2 separate regions of the Homo sapiens genome follow, and region 1 is linked to region 2. The links are contacts of gene promoters, found by promoter capture Hi-C in blood cells and fetal thymus (Javierre and others, 2016). All regions are on one chromosome and are shown on one strand. The core of a region is centred on a gene start or on the middle of the fragment in contact, and the rest is flanking DNA. Distances in the headings are between cores, read along the strand shown.

What was found. Contacts are between HindIII fragments. The CHiCAGO score rates a contact against its expected background, and 5 or more counts as called.
Region 1: a fragment that was not itself captured here is called in contact with the fragment with the promoter of COG1 in region 2 in 1 of 17 cell types (M0 macrophages); the score reaches 5.8 in M0 macrophages.

What each region holds. Positions count from the first base shown.
Region 1 is chr17:72,841,028-72,845,508 of GRCh38, forward strand. All of the region lies in intron 6 of SLC39A11 (solute carrier family 39 member 11), which reads right to left. Among named protein-coding and RNA genes, the nearest start is that of LINC00511, 200 kb to the left of the region's middle. The HindIII fragment of the contact is 1,366 bases long and covers 1,413-2,778 here.
Region 2 is chr17:73,191,020-73,195,557 of GRCh38, forward strand. It overlaps COG1 (component of oligomeric golgi complex 1), which reads left to right and starts at 2,036. Exons shown (of 14, transcript NM_018714.3): 1 at 2,036-2,365. The coding sequence starts at 2,051. RefSeq lists enhancers at 1,263-2,022, 1,308-1,357, 1,988-2,267 and a silencer at 2,318-2,527. The HindIII fragment of the contact is 5,644 bases long and covers 749-4,538 here.

The DNA.
Region 1 (4,481 bases), core at 846-3,345, 350 kb before region 2:
CTGAGTGACAGAGCAAGACTCCGTCTCAAAAAATAAAAAATAAAAAATTAGGACACCTAACTCTCAAACAGCCCCTCCTCTCTTAGAATGGAGGGCAGGTACCCAATGCACCAGTTCTTCTAGGTGCTCAAGTATATAATACATATTGAATACATCAAAGCTTCAGTATGTGTTATAACATTGGGCCCCCCAAAAAGAACGCAGTATAGAACTTCTTGCAAGAAGCTCCATCTATCAGGGGCAAATAAACATGTTTAAATACAGGTAATTGCATCCATCAAGAGTTGAATGAATAAAGAAAATATGGTACATACACACAATGGCGTATTATTCAGCCACATAAATGAATGAGATCCGGTCATTTGCAACAACATGGATGGAACTGGAGGTTATTATGTGAAGTGAACTAAGCCAGGCATGGAAAGACAAACTTCTCATGTTCTCACTTATTTGTGGGAGCTAAAAATTAAAACAATTGAACTCATGGAGATAGAGAGGAGAAGGATGTTTACCAGAGGCTGGGAAGGGCAGTCGGGGAGTCGGGGGAAAGTAGTGATGGTTAATAGGTACAAAAAAAAATAGATGAGTCAGACCTAGTAGTTGACAGCACAACAGGGTGGCTATAGTCAATAATATAATAATTGTACATTTTAAAATAACTACAAGTATAACTGGATTGTTGGTAACACAGAGGATAAATGCTTAAGTTGATGGGTTATGCATTACATACCTGTATCAAAATATTTCATGCAGGCCAGGCGAGGTGGCTCACACCTGTAATCCTAGCACTTTGGGAGGCTAAGGCGGGAGAATCTATTGAGCCCAGGAGTTCGAGACTAGCCTAGGCAACATGGCAAAACCCTGTCTCTACAAAAAATACAAAAAAAAAAAGAAATTAGCTGGGTGTGGTGGTATGCACCTGTAGTCCCAGCTACTCAGGAGGCTGAGGTGGGAGGATCAACTGAGCCCAAGGTTGAGGCCGCAGTGAGCCATGATCACACCACTGCACTCCAGCCTGAGTGACAGAGAGAGATCTTGTCTCAAAAAACTATGTGTGTGTGTGTGTGTGTGTGTGCACGCACGCGCATATGTATTTCATGGCCCCATAAATATACATACCTATGTTACTGACAAAAATTAAAAATAAATAAATAAATAAAACACACAAACAGGTAATTGTAAGTCAGAGTGATAATTATGGTAACAGAAGATAAAGGATACAGCAAGACAGCACAAAGGAAGGAGTGATTAACTTTGTTAAATAAATGAAATTAATAATAAATATTTCTATGATTCTTCACAGTTATCATCCAATGCTAAGGCTAGAAGGAGCCATAACAATAATTTACCACAATCCCCTAAATTTTCAAATGAATGAATGTTTGAATGAGATAACCCCTAGAATCTCTTTAAGCTTCCAATTTAACTTTCTCCCATACAAAGCAATGGTGCAGTTCACTGTTGAGACCATAAGGTACTCATGATAAGTGATTAGTAGGAACTCAATTGCTAGGTGATTTTTAATGCCATTCAAAAACAGAAGGGCCAGGAATCTTTGGAAGGCTCAGAGCCCTTCAATCTGTATGATACTGCATGGACAGCACTTCAAGAGACAGTATGCTCAAAAGGCTGCAGTCTCGGGTTGGTTTTCTAAAAAACCATGTTGTTTCCTCAGGGTGTCCTTCTGCAGCAGACACAAACACCCTAGACCACCCCCACAGATGCACCCAGGCAGGCGCCACGGAAGTAGCTTAGAAGGAGGCGGGTGGTGTCTGCACTCTGTTTCTGGAGTCTGCCTTTTAGTGCTCTTTTTACTGCGCCTGCCTGCATCTGCTGGTCTGCATCAGTCATTACCATTTCTTCCTAAGACATTTCAATTGCACAACTATACTTTTCTTTGTCCTCTAAAGGGGAGGGTTTTTTGCTTATTTGTTTTTTTCTGAGATGGAGTCTTGCTCTGCCTCCAGGCTGGAGTGCCATGGTGCGATCTCGGCTCACTGCAACCTCTGCCTCCTGGGTTCAAGTGATCCTCCTGCCTCAGCCTCCCAAGTAGCTGGGATTACAGGCACGTGCCACCACGCCCAGCTAATTTTTATATTTTTAGTAGAGACGGGGTGTCATCATGTTGGCCAGGATGGTTTCTATCTCCTGACCTCGTGATCTGCCTGCCTCAGCCTCCCGAAGTGCTGGGATTACAGGCCGTGAGCCACCGCGCCCGGCCTGGGGAGGGGTTCTTTCCTGTTCTAGGGTTGTGGATAGACTCCATAAAGTCTAAACACCCAGAATTGTCTGCAAAATATTGTGTGTGGCTGTGGTCTCAAGGTTTATGTCTCCCCAGAATTCATATTTGGAAACCTAATCCCCAATGGTATTGTTATTAGGATGGTGGGGACTTAGGGAATGAATGGTATTAGGAGGTGGGGACTTGGGGAAGTGATTAGGTCGTGAGATGGAGCTCTTATGAATGGGATTAACAACCTCATGAAATGAGACTCCAGAGAGTGCCCTCTTTCCACCATGTGAGGATACAACGAGAAGACAGTCACCTGCAACCCGGAGAAGGACCCTCACCAGAACCTGACCACGACCATGCTGGCAGCCCGATCTCAGGCTTCCAGCTTCCAGAACTGCGAGAAATAAATTTCTGTTGTTTCTAAGCTACCCATTGTATGGCATTTTGTAATGGCAGCCTGAACAGACTAAGACATGTGTACAACATCCTCTTGTGAGATGGTGTATAGCTCTTATCAGATTCACAGGACAACTGTGAACCACAGAAGCTTAAGAACTATTTGACCTTGCACATGTGTATTAAATATTAACCCAAGAGCCCCAGACGTGTGCATATGCCTTCGGGTGTGGCCTCACACTCTGGATACCTCCGGGAGATAGGCTACTATTAACAAGCCTTCCATTTTCCTTCTACTCCAAAAAAAAATTTTTTTTAGCAAAATGTCATCCTCAGGACATACTAAACTGAAATAGCAAAGACAAAAAACTTCAAAAAAAAAAATCGATTCTCCATTTAGTCATTGTGAAAAGTCTGTCTTAAAAACCCAGAGTCTCAGGGAATGTCAAAGCTCTAGTTAAATTTTTAATACACTATAAAGGATAGTGTTAAAGAAGAGACCTTTTCAAAGGTAAGTTGGCTCCAAACAGGCTCTTAAAATGGTCCTCATCAAAGACATGAAGCTGCTTGACAGTGATGGTGAGGGAGTTCACTTCTCTTTAGACAGGATTAGGAGCTGAAGACTTGAGGAATGAGCCACAGTGGGTCTTTGGAGACACATCTATTTGTAGTTAGACCCTTGGTGGCTTCATCCAGTGTCAGGGGTTTAAGTAACATTCATGTGCCAAGGGACCAGGCGCAGTGGCTCACGCCTGTAATCCCAGCACTTTGGGAGGCCAAGGCAGGTGGATCAGTTGAGTCCAGGAGTTCAAGACCAGCCTGACCAATATGGCAAAATCTTGCCTCAACCAAAAATACAAAAAGTAGCCAGGTGTCGTGGCATGCGCCTGTAGTCCCAACCACTTGAGAGGCCGAGGCAGGAGAACCTCTTGAACCCAGGAGGTGGAGGTTGCAGTGAGCCAAAATTGCGCCACTGCACTCCAGCCTGGGCATCAGGGCAGACTCTGTCTCAAAAACAAAAAACAAAAAAACAAAAAACATTCATGGGCCAATGATTCAGAAATCTATAACTCTAGCTAGACTTTGCAAGCCAACTCCAAACTCATGTATCCAGCTGTCTAGTCAGTATCTCCATTTGAATGTCTAATGGCAATCAAACCTCACAATCAAAAAACAAATTCCTGATAGTCCCCCTAAAGCCCCTGGAGCTGCAGCCTTCCTCGTCTCAGTTGATGGCAATTCCATCCCTGCAGCTGGGCAGCCCTGAAACCTCCGGGTCCCTCCTGGCTCCTCGCTTTCTCTCATATCCCACATCCAATCCATCGGCAAATCCCATTGGCTCCACCTTCAATCGGGACCCAGGAAGGGATCCCTTCTCACCACATCCAGCACGACCACCTTGGTCTGCACCACTATCATCTTTGATCTGGATTCTGCAGTGGCCTCTACATAGGCCTCCCTGCTTCCATCCTTACCTCTCCTAAGTCCCATCTCAATTCAGTATCTAAAGAGAAACAAACTTTCAAAGCTCAAGTCAAGTCATACACACCCTCTTCAAAACTCTGCAATGGCTCATCACACACAGAGCAAAAACAAACATTCTTATGCCTCCAAGTTCCATCTAAAGGAGGGGCTGACATCCCTGCCCTCACCTTGTACTTCTCTCCCTGCTGCTCACCCTGCTGTGGCCACAGTGGACTCTTGGCTACTCCTTGTGGGGGCCAGACATGCTCCTGCCTCAGGGCCTTTGCACTGGCTGTTCCCTCTGCCTAAAACACTCACTGTTTCCCAGAGATCTGCATGACTGACTCAAATTCAAGGACATCTCAAGGAGCCCCTCCCTACCTACTCT
Region 2 (4,538 bases), core at 786-3,285:
GAGTGCAGTGTCTCGATCTCGGCTCACTGCAACCTCCGTCTCCCAGGTTCAAGTGATTCTCCTGCCTCAGCTTCCTGTCTGCTGCCTCAGCCTCCCGAGTAGCTGGGATTATAGATGTGCGCCACCACGCCCAGCTAATTTTTGTATTTTTAGTAGAGACAGGGTATCACCATGTTGGCCAGGCTGGTCTCGAACTCCTGACCTCATGTGATCCGCCTGCCTCGGCCTCCCAAAGTGCTGGGATTACAGGCATGAGCCACCCGGCGCGCGCCCCTTTTTTTGTATTTTTTTGTAAGGACGGGGTTTGGCCGTGTTGCCCAGGCTGGTCTTGAACTCCTGGGCTCAAGGGATCCACACGCCTTGGGCTCCCAAAGTGCTGGGATTACAGCCTGCTTCTTAATGTCACTAACTCTTCACCCAAGTCCTAGGCGCTTGTGCCTGCTGTGCCAGTCCCAGGCCGCAGGCTGGCACCGTAGCTATAAAGGGCGCCAGAAAAAAAGATTTTGCTAGATAGCGATGAATTCCCCAATCACAGAAAGGAGATACTGCGGATGCTTATCAGCCGAATACCAGTAAGTGTCCCTTGCAGAATGGGATTAGAGACTGCAAACTGCAGGCCTGCCAACAGAGGGTGCTCTGTGGGAAATTATGTGAAAACGTAGAAAAGAGCGCGAGCCAGTAATTTAAAAATCGACGTCCAAATACTCACTGGGTCACCTATCAGCTATGTAATTTGGGCAGGTAAATAAGCTTTTGTTTCTTTTTTTTTTTTCCTCATAAATGGACTAGGAATATTACTCCTACCTACCTGGCATGGCCGATGTGCGAGAAAATGAGATAATCTCGTGGACAGGCTCTGAAAACTGCACTTTTACTGAGTAAAAAACCCTTTGCCTCTCCGGGCCCCCGTTTCCCCATCTGTAAAATGAGTCTGTAAAGTGAGAATGATACTCCCTACGCCGCAAGGCTCTTGCGGGTTAAACTGGAATATTATAAATGCACCATTTATTTGCAGATTGAAATTCTGTGCGTCCGGAGGTGGCGGGTGGGAGAGGGAATGAGCAGGGATGCAGGGTAGGCCCTGAGTTGCTGGGGGCTCAGCATGGCCGCTGCGCACATTGCATCATTTTGTCGACACTGGTGTGGGTGAAATCTTCCAAAAGAAATTAAAACAGAAAAAAAAAAAAAGAAGGGTCTGGGACTTAGCAGAAACAAGCCACAATCTCCAGATTCTACTATTCCTGGGCCACGTGAGGAGCGCCCACCCGTCTGGCGCTGCGTTCCCCGGGGCGTCCCAGCCTCTCCCGCCCAGCCCGCCGCCCTCCTCCCCCATGGCCACCAAGGTCAGGCTCTCGCAGGGAAAACGTCTTCAGGGGCTAAACATCGGTTTTAAACGAAATGGAAAACCTCCAACACGAATCAACAGCAGAGGAAAAGCAGACGCCAAACAAGCGCTCAGAACCCCTTCAGGGGCGGCGTGGTAGCTCTTCCCGGGGAACAGCGAGGGGCGCGGATGTCCCTCTTCCTAAAACTGCACGCGGGGTGCGATCCGAGACCCAGCGGCGGCGAGCGCGCCCGAGTCTGCTCGCGGGCGCCAGGCGCGCGGAGAGCGGCGGCTGCGCCTGCGCCAACGCCGTCAGTCCGCGGGGCCCGATCCCGACACCTAACTCCACAGAGAAGCTCTGCTCCTAAGGGAAAGGGAAGACTTCAGCCACAGTTTCGCAGCCAACCTGGCGACCTCACCTCTCTGGCGACCTCACTTCCCAGCCGGCTCCGTTTAAGAAAACCCCGCGCAGGACCGCGCCCGCCCCCGCGCCCGCGCCCGCCCCCGCCCCCTCGCGCCCGCCCCCTCGCGCCCGCCCCCTCGCGCCCGCCCCCTCGCGCCCGCCCCCTCGCGCCCGCCCCCTCGCGCCCGCCCCCTCGCGCCCGCCCCCTCGGGTAACAAACATGGCCCCCGGCGGGGCGGAAGCGCTTCCGCCCCCAACGAAGATGGCGGAGGGGGCGGGACTAAAAGGGCGTAGGTAGATCGCCGGGGGCTGACGAGTGCACCATGGCCACCGCGGCAACCTCACCCGCGCTGAAGCGGCTGGATCTGCGCGACCCTGCGGCTCTTTTCGAGACGCATGGAGCGGAGGAGATCCGCGGGCTGGAGCGCCAGGTTCGGGCCGAGATCGAGCACAAGAAGGAGGAGCTGCGGCAGATGGTGGGCGAACGGTACCGCGACCTGATCGAGGCGGCCGACACCATCGGCCAGATGCGCCGCTGCGCCGTGGGGCTAGTGGACGCCGTGAAGGCCACCGACCAGTACTGCGCCCGCCTCCGCCAGGCCGGCTCGGCCGCGCCCCGGCCACCGCGGGCCCAGCAGGTCAGTCCCCGTGCCCCCACCCTGCGACCCGCAGGCGGGTCCCGGAGCCCCTGGCCTTGCAGGTCAACCCCGCCCCCCTCTGTCAGTCCCAGACCCCGCGAGTCCTCACCTTCCTTAGCCAGGAGCCTATCCGCCCCTCACCCTTTGGGCCCCCCTCAGAGGACAGTGCCAGCCTTCCTTGCACATATGCGGCTGCTGATCCGTTCTGGAAATGCCATTCAACAGTTTCTTCAGGCGCTTTCCCCCGACTTCCGGGCCTTGATTCCTACACCTCACTGGGCTCCTTTCAATTTTAGCGGAAAACGCCAGGAGTTTCTGTCTTGACAGTTCAACGCTCACCTATATAACATGTCCTGACATTGTTTTTCCTCAGGTTTCTCCCCTATGTTGACACCTGCACTCCAAGTCATTTCTTCCTCATCCCAACCTTCCCCTTATCTCCCCAAGAATAACTTCCACAACCCCAAATAGCTGTTCTACCCTTTGGGAGTTGTTGAGGGTACCAGCTATCAAGCCCTTAACTTTATGTATGTATGTGACAGGGTCTCCCAAAGTGCTGGGATTACAGTCATGAGCCACCACAGCCGGCCAAGCCCTTACCTTTTAATAGCTGAACATTTTCATTTTCAGAACTAAGGCTTTTTTCATTCAGGTTCTCCTTATCCCGTGTTCTTCCCCCCAAACGCTATTGATTAGACACAATGAGGAAGGATGGGAGGTAAACAAACACATCCTCATATTGGAGCTGCAGCTTGCGTTCCTAAAGAATTTTTATTGGCCGGGTGCGGTGGCTCACGCCTGTAATCCCAGCACTTTGGGAGGCCGAGGCGGGTGGATCACGAGGTCAGGAGATCCAGACCATCCTGGCTAACACGGTGAAACCCCGTCTCTACTAAAAATACACAAAATTAGCCAGGCGTGGTGGCCGGCGCCTGTAGTCCCAGCTACCTGGGAGGCTGAGGCAGGAGAATGGCATGAACCCGGGAGGCGGAGCTTGCAGTGAGCCGAGATCGCGCCACTGCACTCCAGCCTGGGCCACAGAGCGAGACTCTGTCTCAAAAAAAAAAAAAAAAAGAATTTTTATTTCTTTATTTTTTGAGACAGGATCTCGCTCTGTCACCCAGGCTGGAGTGCAGTGGCGCGATCTCGGCTCACTGCAACCTCCGCCTCCCGGGTTCAAGCGATTCTCCTGCCTCAGCCACCCGCGTAGCTGGGATTACAGGCACCTGCCACCATGTCCGACTAATTTTTGTACTTTCAGTAGAGACGGGGTTTCACCATATTGGCCCGGCTGGTCTCCAACCCCTGACCTCATGTGATCTGCCTGCCTTGGCCTCCCAAAGTGATGGGATTACAGGCGCGAGAGCCACCGCGCACGGCCCCTTAAAGAATATAGACCTAGCAATGAACGAAGTGAAAGGGCATGAAGGGTGAAAAAGGTAAACAGTTAGTTGTTTTTAACAGCCTGGGAGAACTTACTGGGACATAGAAGAAAAAATTGAAAAGTACAGTCTAACTCCAATTTGGAACTTGTTCATGCTATCTGAGCTTTACAGAAATCCTGGTCAGTAGACTGGACTGACACAATAAAACTATAGGAAGTTGCAAATAAGTTTGCATATTTTTGAAATGAGTGACCTCATCCCTCCCAAAGCTAACATTTAGTACACGTGTCCCCTTAGGTGGCCAGCCTTTGCTGTAACTGAGTCATGCTTCAGGGTTTATTAAAACGCTAACTTGAATTATGCCTGATTTTAGAAACGTATTGATTTTCATAGTTGTTATATCTGGTTTATTCTCGGTTAACCCTACAAAAATTTGAGTGTCTTCTTCGTTCACATTACAAAGAAACAGAAGTCCCCCAATTCCTGCTCTGAAGGAGCTTACAACCTGGTCGAGGAAATAAATCCATGGAAACTTGACGAGAAAAAAATGTAAAAAAATTTAGAATAACAGGTCAGGCGCTGTGGCTCATGCCAGCACTTTGGGAGGCCAAGGCAGGTGGATTGCTTGATCACAGGAGTTTGAAACCAACCTGGGCAACACGGTGAAACACCATCTCTACAAAAAATACCAAAAAGTGAGCGGGCATGGTGGCACATGCCTGTGGTCCCAGCTACTTGGAAGGCTGAAGTGGGAAGATCTCTTGAGCCCAAGAGGTCAAGGCTGCAGT